2 separate regions of the Homo sapiens genome follow, and region 1 is linked to region 2. Evidence: promoter capture Hi-C in 16 types of primary human blood cells and fetal thymus (Javierre and others, 2016). All regions are on one chromosome and are shown on one strand. Each heading gives the region's core, a stretch centred on a gene start or on the middle of the fragment in contact. The rest is flanking DNA. Distances are from core to core; before and after follow the strand shown. Region 1 holds the start of SEC11C (SEC11 homolog C, signal peptidase complex subunit). Region 2 holds the start of ZNF397 (zinc finger protein 397).

Region 1 (4,612 bases), core at 807-3,306, about 24 Mb after region 2:
TTAGAGTAGGGTGGGTTCTAACAAATATGACCATTAACCTTAGAAGAGAAGAGGAAAGACACAGACACAGAGTGAAGACATGGGAAGATGGAGGCAGAGACTGGAGTTATGCTGTAGAAGCCGACGAATGCCTGGGGCTACCAGAATCTGGAAGAGGCAAGCAAAGATCCTTCCTTAGAGAATTTGGGGGAAGCAGGTCTCAGCAAAACCTCCAGAATGTCAGAAAACAAATTTCCGTTGTTTTAAGCCACCTGACTTTGGCATTTTGTTATGGCAGCCCAAAGAAACAAATCCAGCGCGTATCATTCACAAAAGTGGGGAAGACATCTTCACAGGGCCCATGCTCCAGTGGTTCTGTGCAGGCCAATGTGGTTTATACCTCCATTTACAGGGGCTGATTCTCTCCATGACATATGCTTGCATCTAACATTTATAAAATTTACAGTCTACAAAACATTTTTACTTATCCTACCTGTGATTGTCATAACCATCAGGGCAGATACTACCAACAGTTGAAAAACTTTTTAAAACTAGACTTTATTTTTATTATTTATTTATTTATATTTCAATAATTTTTGGGATACGGATGGTTTTTGGTTACATGAATGAGTTCTTTAGTGGTGAATTCTGAGATCTTAGTGTACTCATCACCTGAGCACTATATGCTGTATCCAAAATGTTTAGGCATTATTTTTTTGGAGTAGTTTTAGGTTTACAGCAAAAATGAGTGGAAAGTATAGAGATATACCCATCTACTCCTGCCCCCACACATGCACAGCCTCCTCCACTATCAACTTCCCCTGCCAGAGTAGTACATTTGTTACAATTGGTGAATCTACACTGACACATCCTTATCACCCAAAGTCCACGGGTTACATCAGGGTTCACTTTGGGGTTGTACAGTCTATGTTTTGACAAATATATAATGATATGTACTCATCATTATAGTATCATACTCTCCCCCCTACCCCCGGCAACCACTGATCATTTTACTGTCTCCATAGTCTTGCCTCTAGAGTTCACGGGAAGGAGTACTTCACTGGGGAAGAGGCCACCAGTGACAGAACAAATGAAGTGAACATTCTAGTTCTCTTAATTACTTATGTCCTGGATTAAGAAAAAAATATTAATAGTAGCCATAATTCCTCCTACTGGTTCTGAGAGTCTATTTTGAGTCAGATGGGAGGTTTTTTTTGCATATTATTAATACCTCACTTGACTCTCACAACATCTCTTGCCTTTTTCAGTATGCCATGTAGTTGGGATCATACAGTATGTTGCCATTTCAGATAGACTTCTTTCACTTAGTAATATGCAGTTAAGCTTCCCTCCTGTCTTTTCATGGCTTGATATTACATTTCTTTTTTGCACTGAATAGCATTTTATTGTCTGGATATCCTGCAGTTTATTTATCCATTCACCCACTAAAGGACATCTTGGTTGCTTCCAAGTGTTGACAATTATGAATAAAGATGCTAAAAACATCCGTGTACGGGTTTTTGTGTGGACATCCGTTTTCAAGCTGGTATTTGGGTAAATACCAAGGAGTGCAATTGCTGCATCATATGGTGAGAGGATGCTTAGTTTTGGAAGAAATTGCCAAACTGTCTTCCAAAGTGGCTGTAACAAATACGGTTTTTATTTGGTGGATGAGCAAAGGGTTCATGGAGGTGAATAAATTAGTCTAAGACTGGACAATATGCAGGGACTTCTACCCAATGTCTTCCTGTGTTGCTTCTCACCCAATGCTCAACCTAAGCAGGAGCCTGGAGGCTGGGCCAAAGGTTCTGATGTGAAGATATCACACTGGGTTCTAGGTTTATTGGTCACATTTTGGACCCTTACTCTATTCCCACAAACCTGTTCCACCCACAGCTTTCCTCATTGAAGTTGAGGGGAACTCTACCCTTCTAGTTCCATAGGTTAAAAACCCTGGAGTCAGCCTCAATCTCTTTTCTTCTTTCACGCCCTATATTTATTCTTTCAAAAAATCCTGAAGACTCTTTCTTCAAAATGTATCCAGATTCTGAACCTTTAGTGCTGCCACCTTAGTTCCAGCAATTATTAGTGGCAGGGTTAACTATCACCATATCTTCCTATGTACTAAGCACTGTGTCTTGCACTTATAATTTTATACATCTGATATTTGGAAGAATTTTACACAGACTAGCTTCTGGATCTGTACATTTCAAACCTTGTTTTTCCTCTCCATCCACTTATTTCCAAGGTCAAGTGCTGCAGAACACTTTCATATCAGATGCCACTTCCAGTGGGACTTCCTGCCACGGTGCCAGGTGAGTTGGCCCAGTGGATGGCAGTATTCCCAGAAGCCATTTTTTACACGAGGATGGCAGGAAAGACCATGAACCACATAAATAAATTCACTAAACTCAAACCAAATGTATCTCCAACTCGTTTCCTCCTTAGCTGGATCCCCAAAATTCTCCTTGTCCCTCCAACAGGAGGGGAAATGTAATGGAGGTGAAGTTGGAATGCAAAGAAACAGAACTCTTAACCAATAGCAATTGCAATATCTTGCTTTTGAAAGTTTTACACATTCTATGGTTAAGTTTCTCCCACACCTTGGAAAAACACCTTTGCAATTGAAGGGTCCCAGAACTTACCTTTCATTAGCTTCATGGTAAGTCAGCTTCTGGTATATTTTAAATTGCAACCTGATCCTTTCCCCCAGACCTCCCCATTCAACTTATCTGCTTTTCCTGTTGTCATAGCACCTCCATCCTTTAGGTACCGTATAAATTATCCATTATGTCTGCCTTCGGTAGAATATAAGCTTCATGAGGGCAAGAATCTTTGCTTGTTTTGTTAACTGATGTTTCTCAAGTGCCTAGAACAAGGCCAGGTGCATGGTAGGTGCTCCATAAAGATTTGTGGATAAATAAATACAATAAAGAATGCATAATGCATACACGAGTGAGTGAATGAACCAAAGGTAATCTAGGATCAGAACTGTGATGATCTAGGACTTCTAAATTTAAAACTTTGAGTTATATTCCACTCATTTCCACTTAACCTTGGCCATGTCAATGAACCTTTCTGGGCCTTTGCTTTCTCGTGTATGAAATTAGGTGGTTATGTATTCATTTAATTAATATCTATTGCAACCCAATTATGGTCAAGGCATTCAAAGATACTTCCTTGCATACAAGTGGTACCACTCAAAATGCAGAATTCAGCGGCCTCAAAAGTCCCGCCTCTTCCAAGCCCCGCCCACCGCAGTCCATCTTTAGGCCCCGCCCCAATTCGGCTCAGCCCGCCCCAGCGTAGAGGCACCACCTTTCCTCGCTGCAGTCATCCAATAGCCAAGATACACGGCTAGGTGATTTGCGAGCGGGAGTTAGGTGTCCTCTTGGCGCCTGACCAGAGTCGGGAAATTCAGCTCCTCTTGAGTAGTCCCTTCCCCGAGTTGCCCCCCGAGGTATGCGGGGTCACTCGCTGCTCGATGTTCCCTCCGAAGGGTCGGACAAGGCTCCGGAGCCCTGTAGCTGCCCTCCCTAGGAGCCCCGGGTCTTCACTGGCCGAGGTGCCCACCCCGCAGCATTCTGGGAGTGGTAGTTTTCTTCCTTCAGGTTCATTCCTGGCTGGCCAGTGCCCAAGACTGGCGAGACTACGATTCCCAGACGCCCAAGCGAGTCGCCGGTCACGTGGCCGCAAGGACGCTGGGCCGGTGGGCGGGGGCCGGCAGGTGCTCCGCAGCCGTCTGTGCCACCCAGAGCCGGCGGGCCGCTAGGTCCCCGGAGACCCTGCTATGGTGCGTGCGGGCGCCGTGGGGGCTCATCTCCCCGCGTCCGGCTTGGATATCTTCGGGGACCTGAAGAAGATGAACAAGCGCCAGGTGACGGAGGAGGGTGGTGAGCGCGCCGTGGCCGGGACCGCCTGTGCTAGCGGGGAGTCGGGGCTTCCCAGTCAGGGCTCCGGCTCCCAGTGAATGCGGCCGGGCGGCCACCCGAAGCTCCCGCGCTGGGCTCTCAGGCCCTGGGTTCTACGCCTACGTGTGGGCATGGGTGTGCACTTCCTTGCCCTGACAAGAGCACAATTAGGGGAGGGTGCAGGAAAGGGGAGAATAGAAACCCCGTGCCATGGAATGTCAAATGTGGTTGAGAATGCCACAGCCACGCTTGTGGGAGAGATGACTCGGTGAACGACAGCTCTCTGAGCGTATTTGAAGGGCCACCCGGTGAAGAGGGAACCGATTTCTCTGTGGGGCTTCAGAGGCCTGACTGCCGGCAGGTGGAAGAGGCAGAAAGGCAGGCGAGAGGGAAGAACTTTCCTACAACGGGAGCTGTCCAGCGATGCCTCCCAAAGCAGTTTCTTCCCAGCCTGGGCAGTTGTTTTTCCCCTGACCGTGGGTCGGGACTAAATAATGCTCCTTGTGCCTAGAGAGCTCACAAGCTGTGCGCAATCATTGTGGACTCAACCAGTGTTCCCAGCGAGATTCCAGAAGCCTTCTCTAACTTCTGAGATGGCTGCACTCTGAATATAGGAGGCAGTGTAGGGTCTTTGGGCAGCTGGGGTGGTTGAATTCCCTCTCCTTTGTGAGAGGACCTCAGAGGAAAACGTTCCTCTTGCTCTCTTTTTAGCCACTTATTGG
Region 2 (4,462 bases), core at 1,678-4,177:
ATACTTCTCTACCCTTGATTCAATAATTTTGCAAATATTTTCACATTAAAGCAGACTGGATATATGTGAAACTGGGGATGGGGGAAGATAGAGGGAATGATTTCAAGGGCATTGATATAACCGATAGCACTGAAAGTTAAATAAGTCATGGAAATTGTTGGCTAAGGTCCTTAAGGGGCTCTAAGGAGGCCCTAAGGCCCTACAGTCCTATGGGGTAATCAGTTGCTCTCTCAGTGGGAACTTAAACTATGTCCCAGAAACTGGCTCTAGATCTCTAATCTACATCTCTTGCAAGTAAGTAATTACTAATATTTTATATTTTAAACATAGGTAACATCTTATAAGGAAGGACAGGAGTCTGGATTTTTTCTCAGTGTCTCACTTTCTTACCTATACAAGGGAATCAGATTACCTATCAAAGCAGATATTACTGTTGCAAATTCAACATTCATCTATTTATCTCCCTTTTCTGCCTTTTTAACACAGCCCTAATTTCATGCATTCTCCCCAGAGTGTCTGTGTCCTTTAGGAGAGGCTGGCCTTCTCCTTAGCCCTGGGATATAAATTTCAATTGTCCTAATCCCACCATGGAGGCCTTACCTCCCTTGTTAGTGATAGACATAAGCACTCAAAGCAATTTCAGTTAATAAGACATGATGGAGAAATCTATCAGGGAAAAAGAGTTTCCTTAATCGTATAAAGGGGCAAAAGATAAAGGTGTTCCCCTTTTTGGTCTCTGAACATTATCTGTAATCTGGAACTGAGGAAATCATTTTAGGACCATAAAGGAAGCCAGACTGGAGAACAACACACTTAAAGATGGCAGAGCCAAAAGAAGGAAGAAACCTGTGTCCTTGACAATATTGTCCAGATGCAGAAGTAACCAACCCTGGGAATGATTTTATCTCCATGCATCTAGCTATTAGGATTTGTTTTTAAAAGGCTTGAACAATAAGGACATTTAGTAAGGTTCCTGTTACTGCAGCCAAAAGCATTTCAACTGATATGCCTTCTCTCTTTCAATAGTTTCACTCTTACATAGTAGGTTTCTCAATATAACAAGGTGTGTTAGGTTGGATGCAAAGATAACTGCCAAAATTTCCTCCTATGATCAAGCTGCTTAATGTCTATTTCCCTTTTCCACCATTCTAGTCCTTCTGTCATGGAATACTGCAGAAAAATATAATGCCAGTTCCAGACTCAGGCTTTAAGAGAATTAGCATCTTTCCTCCTCCTTAACTCTCTTGGAAGCCAGTCACCATGTAAGAAAGCTTAGGCTAAACTCCTGAATGGAGAGAGGCCTTGTGGAGAAGAATCAAGTAACTTCAACCAAGAGGCAACACCAAGACTTCAGCAATTTGAGTGAAGCCATCTTGGACCTTCCACCCCAGTTAAGTGAAGATAGCTGACACATCATAAAGCAGACTAGCCATCTCCGCTAAGCCCTTCCTGAATTCCTGGCAACAGAACTGTGAGCAATAAAACATCTGCTGTTTTTAGTCACTAAGTCTTGAAGTGGTTCATTATGAAGCAATTGATAATTTATAAACAAATTAATATTATTTGGTTTTTTGCTTTGTAAAATTGCTGTAGTCATTTCACAATGATAAAATTATTTAGTGAGTCACTAATAGCTTTGAATGCTAACGAACATTTTTCTCAAATATGTGTTTTAAGTCTTGGCTCACAAAGGAGAATTTGTTTCTATGTATGTATGTATCGCTTTGTTATTATCCTGTGTACTTTTTTAATATAACATTTTAAAAATATGTAACATTTAAACATGTAAAATGTAACGTTTTAAAAATAAATACAAATAAATGGGAAACGATTTGCAACAAACGAGTTGCTATCCTTAATAAGCAAAAAATTCTCACAAATAAAAAAGAAAAATCTTACTCCCTTAATTTTTTAAATGGGAAAAGCCATCTCTGAAGAACCATAAATGGTCAGTAAACATGAAGGGGGACTATCTTAAGCTCACAAAGTTGAAACATGAGGCATCATTTTTCACCGACTAAATAGCCAAAGAAAAATTTAAACAGTGAGACAATACCAGCAAGCTTCCACTGAAGAACGGGAAGACCCTAAGATAGGCTCCAGGAGTCTACGATACCAGTCTCCTTGAACTATGGGGACGTGGACGTCCCTGGTCACAAGTTGCCTGACTTTGGGCGATGTCTACGGCTGTAAATTTGGGATTATATAGCCACAGCACAGAACTGTTGTAAGGCTCCAGTGATACTCATAGGCAAAAGCAATATAAGTGACTGTTAGTTTTTGTTCAGCCTATTCATCCTTACATTTACTTTTGTCGGAAAAGAACTGGAATCACAGGAAAATCTGAGGTTTTTTTTTTTTTTTTTTTTTTGAGACAGAGTCTCGCTCTGTCGCCCAGGCTGGAGTGCAGCACATCTCAGTTCACTGCAAGCTCCGCCTCCCGGGTTCACGCCATTCTCCTGCCTCAGCCTCCCGAGTAGCTGGAACTACAGGCGCCCGCCAACATGCCCAGCTAAATTTTTGTATTTTTAGTAGAGACGGGGTTTCACCGTGTTAGCCAGGATGGTCTCTATCTCCTGACCTCGTGATCCGCCCGCCTCGGCCACCGCGCCCGGCCGAAAATCTGAATATTTTAATGGAAAACTGGGAGTGAGATTCGGGAATTACTTGAGACCAACAATGATGGGTGGTGCCAGGAGAAAGCCAGGGTGGGAACGGCCCAGGCGAGATGCGGGACCCTCCAGGTGCCGCCGCTCACAAGGACCCCTGACTCCTAGCGCACCCTCCCCTGGCCTTGGAGATTCCGCCGGGCTAGCGGCTACCGGGAGAAGGCGGTGGAAACTGTAGAGCCCGCGGCTCTGATTGGCTACCTCAGAGCAAGGGGCGGGGCGGCGGAGGACCCGAAGGGCGCGAGAGCGGAACACTGCGTACGCGCACTTCCGGTCTTTGTGGCTTGCAGCTCGGGGTGGGTGGCTCATTTCCTGGCCGCTCCTGGGCTTCGCGGTGAGGGACGTGGGCCCCTAGGAAGAGGGAGGTGGGGTTGGGAGCGCGCGCCGGACAGTGGAGGAGCTCCGCTCCTCGGCCTGCCCATCCCCAGGTCGCGGCCCTTTGGCCCGCGCGGCGTCTCCAAGCGACTGGGGAACTCAGAGGAGGCCAGCACTCAAACTCCTGCTTTCCAAAGGAAAACGCAGTTCCGCTGACCCCGTGACTTCGTAAATGCTGCGGTTTAACCAAGGATATAAAAATAGAAGGGCTAGTTAGTTAGTTAGTTAGTGCGGCCGGACTGGTTAAACCTTAAATTTGTAGGCTAAATATTTTAATTCATCTCTTAACGTTAACCGTAGTGTGAGGAATGAATTTTACTCATCTGTCCTGACAAACTAAGGGCATACATTCCTATCGATATCTCGCCATCCTAAAAGCAGGTCAAGTTTGGTCTGTGTCACAACATTTAATACCTATTTGTTACCATATTTTGCTTTTGAACATTTTTAGTCTTGGGATATTCTAAGCTTTTTCAGAACTGATACGGATCTCTTTGCTGCTTTTGTGTATGTGATACCTATCATGTTTTTGAACACATGGTAAGCATTTTACAGATACGTCTTGGTTCTTGGTCAATTCCTCTGTAGACTCGTTTATTCATAAGCAAAAATCTTAATGCTCAGTAAGTGCCTCAGTGTTTGTTGAAGTAATTCGGTAAACACCAAATGCGATCAAATGACAAATATCCAATATTTACATCAACTCATGTTTAATGTGAACTTTTAAAAAAACGTTATTACTGCCTTAAATGAAAATCAACATTACTTGCTTTAGATAGAAAGTAAGTAAAAATAAATGTTTAAAATCAGTATTACTAAATTCTGCCTAAATATTTTTACTCTTGGAAGTCTGATTCTGAAGCCTGTATTTTATTTAAAAGAGAGTTCTACAAGTTTTATTAATACATACATGTTAAAGATAGACTTTTCTCCTTGATACAATCAGAATTGAAAGAATTGGAAAGGAAATTTTCTCACTATGTGATTGATGTTAATGTTGCATTCACATTCTTAGGCTTCTAAAATAGTTTTTTCTAACATTAGTGGTAGGAATTCTTCATAATGGGAGACACTAATTGAGGTTAATGATTTTTAGTTTATCATCACATTATTGTTTTATTTAGTGATAGCCCCAAATCTACTCCCTTTCAATATATTACTAAAGTTACTCATCTTTCTTATTACAAGTACTTAGAGATTTTATTGATTGCTGTAAGTTAACTGCTTTTATATCCTTCAGGAAAGAAGAGATTACTCACACTCCTTCGCAAGCACAGAACCAGTTGTACTGAGCTTTTTGCTAAGCTGTTTCAGCCAAGAATGGCTGTGGAATCTGGAGTGATTTCAACCCTGATACCTCAGGATCCTCCGGAACAAGAACTAATACTAGTGAAAGTAGAAGATAACTTTTCCTGGGA

The links. Contacts are between HindIII fragments. The CHiCAGO score rates a contact against its expected background, and 5 or more counts as called.
Region 1: a contact is called between a fragment that was not itself captured here and the fragment with the promoter of ZNF397 in region 2, in 2 of 17 cell types (total CD8 T cells and non-activated CD4 T cells). The highest score is 6.8, in total CD8 T cells.

What each region holds. Positions count from the first base shown.
Region 1 is chr18:59,136,180-59,140,791 of GRCh38, forward strand. It overlaps SEC11C (SEC11 homolog C, signal peptidase complex subunit), which reads left to right and starts at 3,705. Exons shown (of 6, transcript NM_033280.4): 1 at 3,705-3,856. The coding sequence starts at 3,770. RefSeq lists silencers at 3,135-3,184, 3,605-3,744 and enhancers at 3,295-3,384, 3,465-3,564. The HindIII fragment of the contact is 1,471 bases long and covers 1,322-2,792 here.
Region 2 is chr18:35,238,107-35,242,568 of GRCh38, forward strand. ZNF397 (zinc finger protein 397) reads left to right here and starts at 2,928. Exons shown (of 4, transcript NM_001135178.3): 1 at 2,928-3,003; 2 at 4,285-4,462. The coding sequence starts at 4,365. RefSeq lists enhancers at 2,610-2,719, 2,665-3,190 and a silencer at 2,980-3,109. The HindIII fragment of the contact is 1,449 bases long and covers 2,062-3,510 here.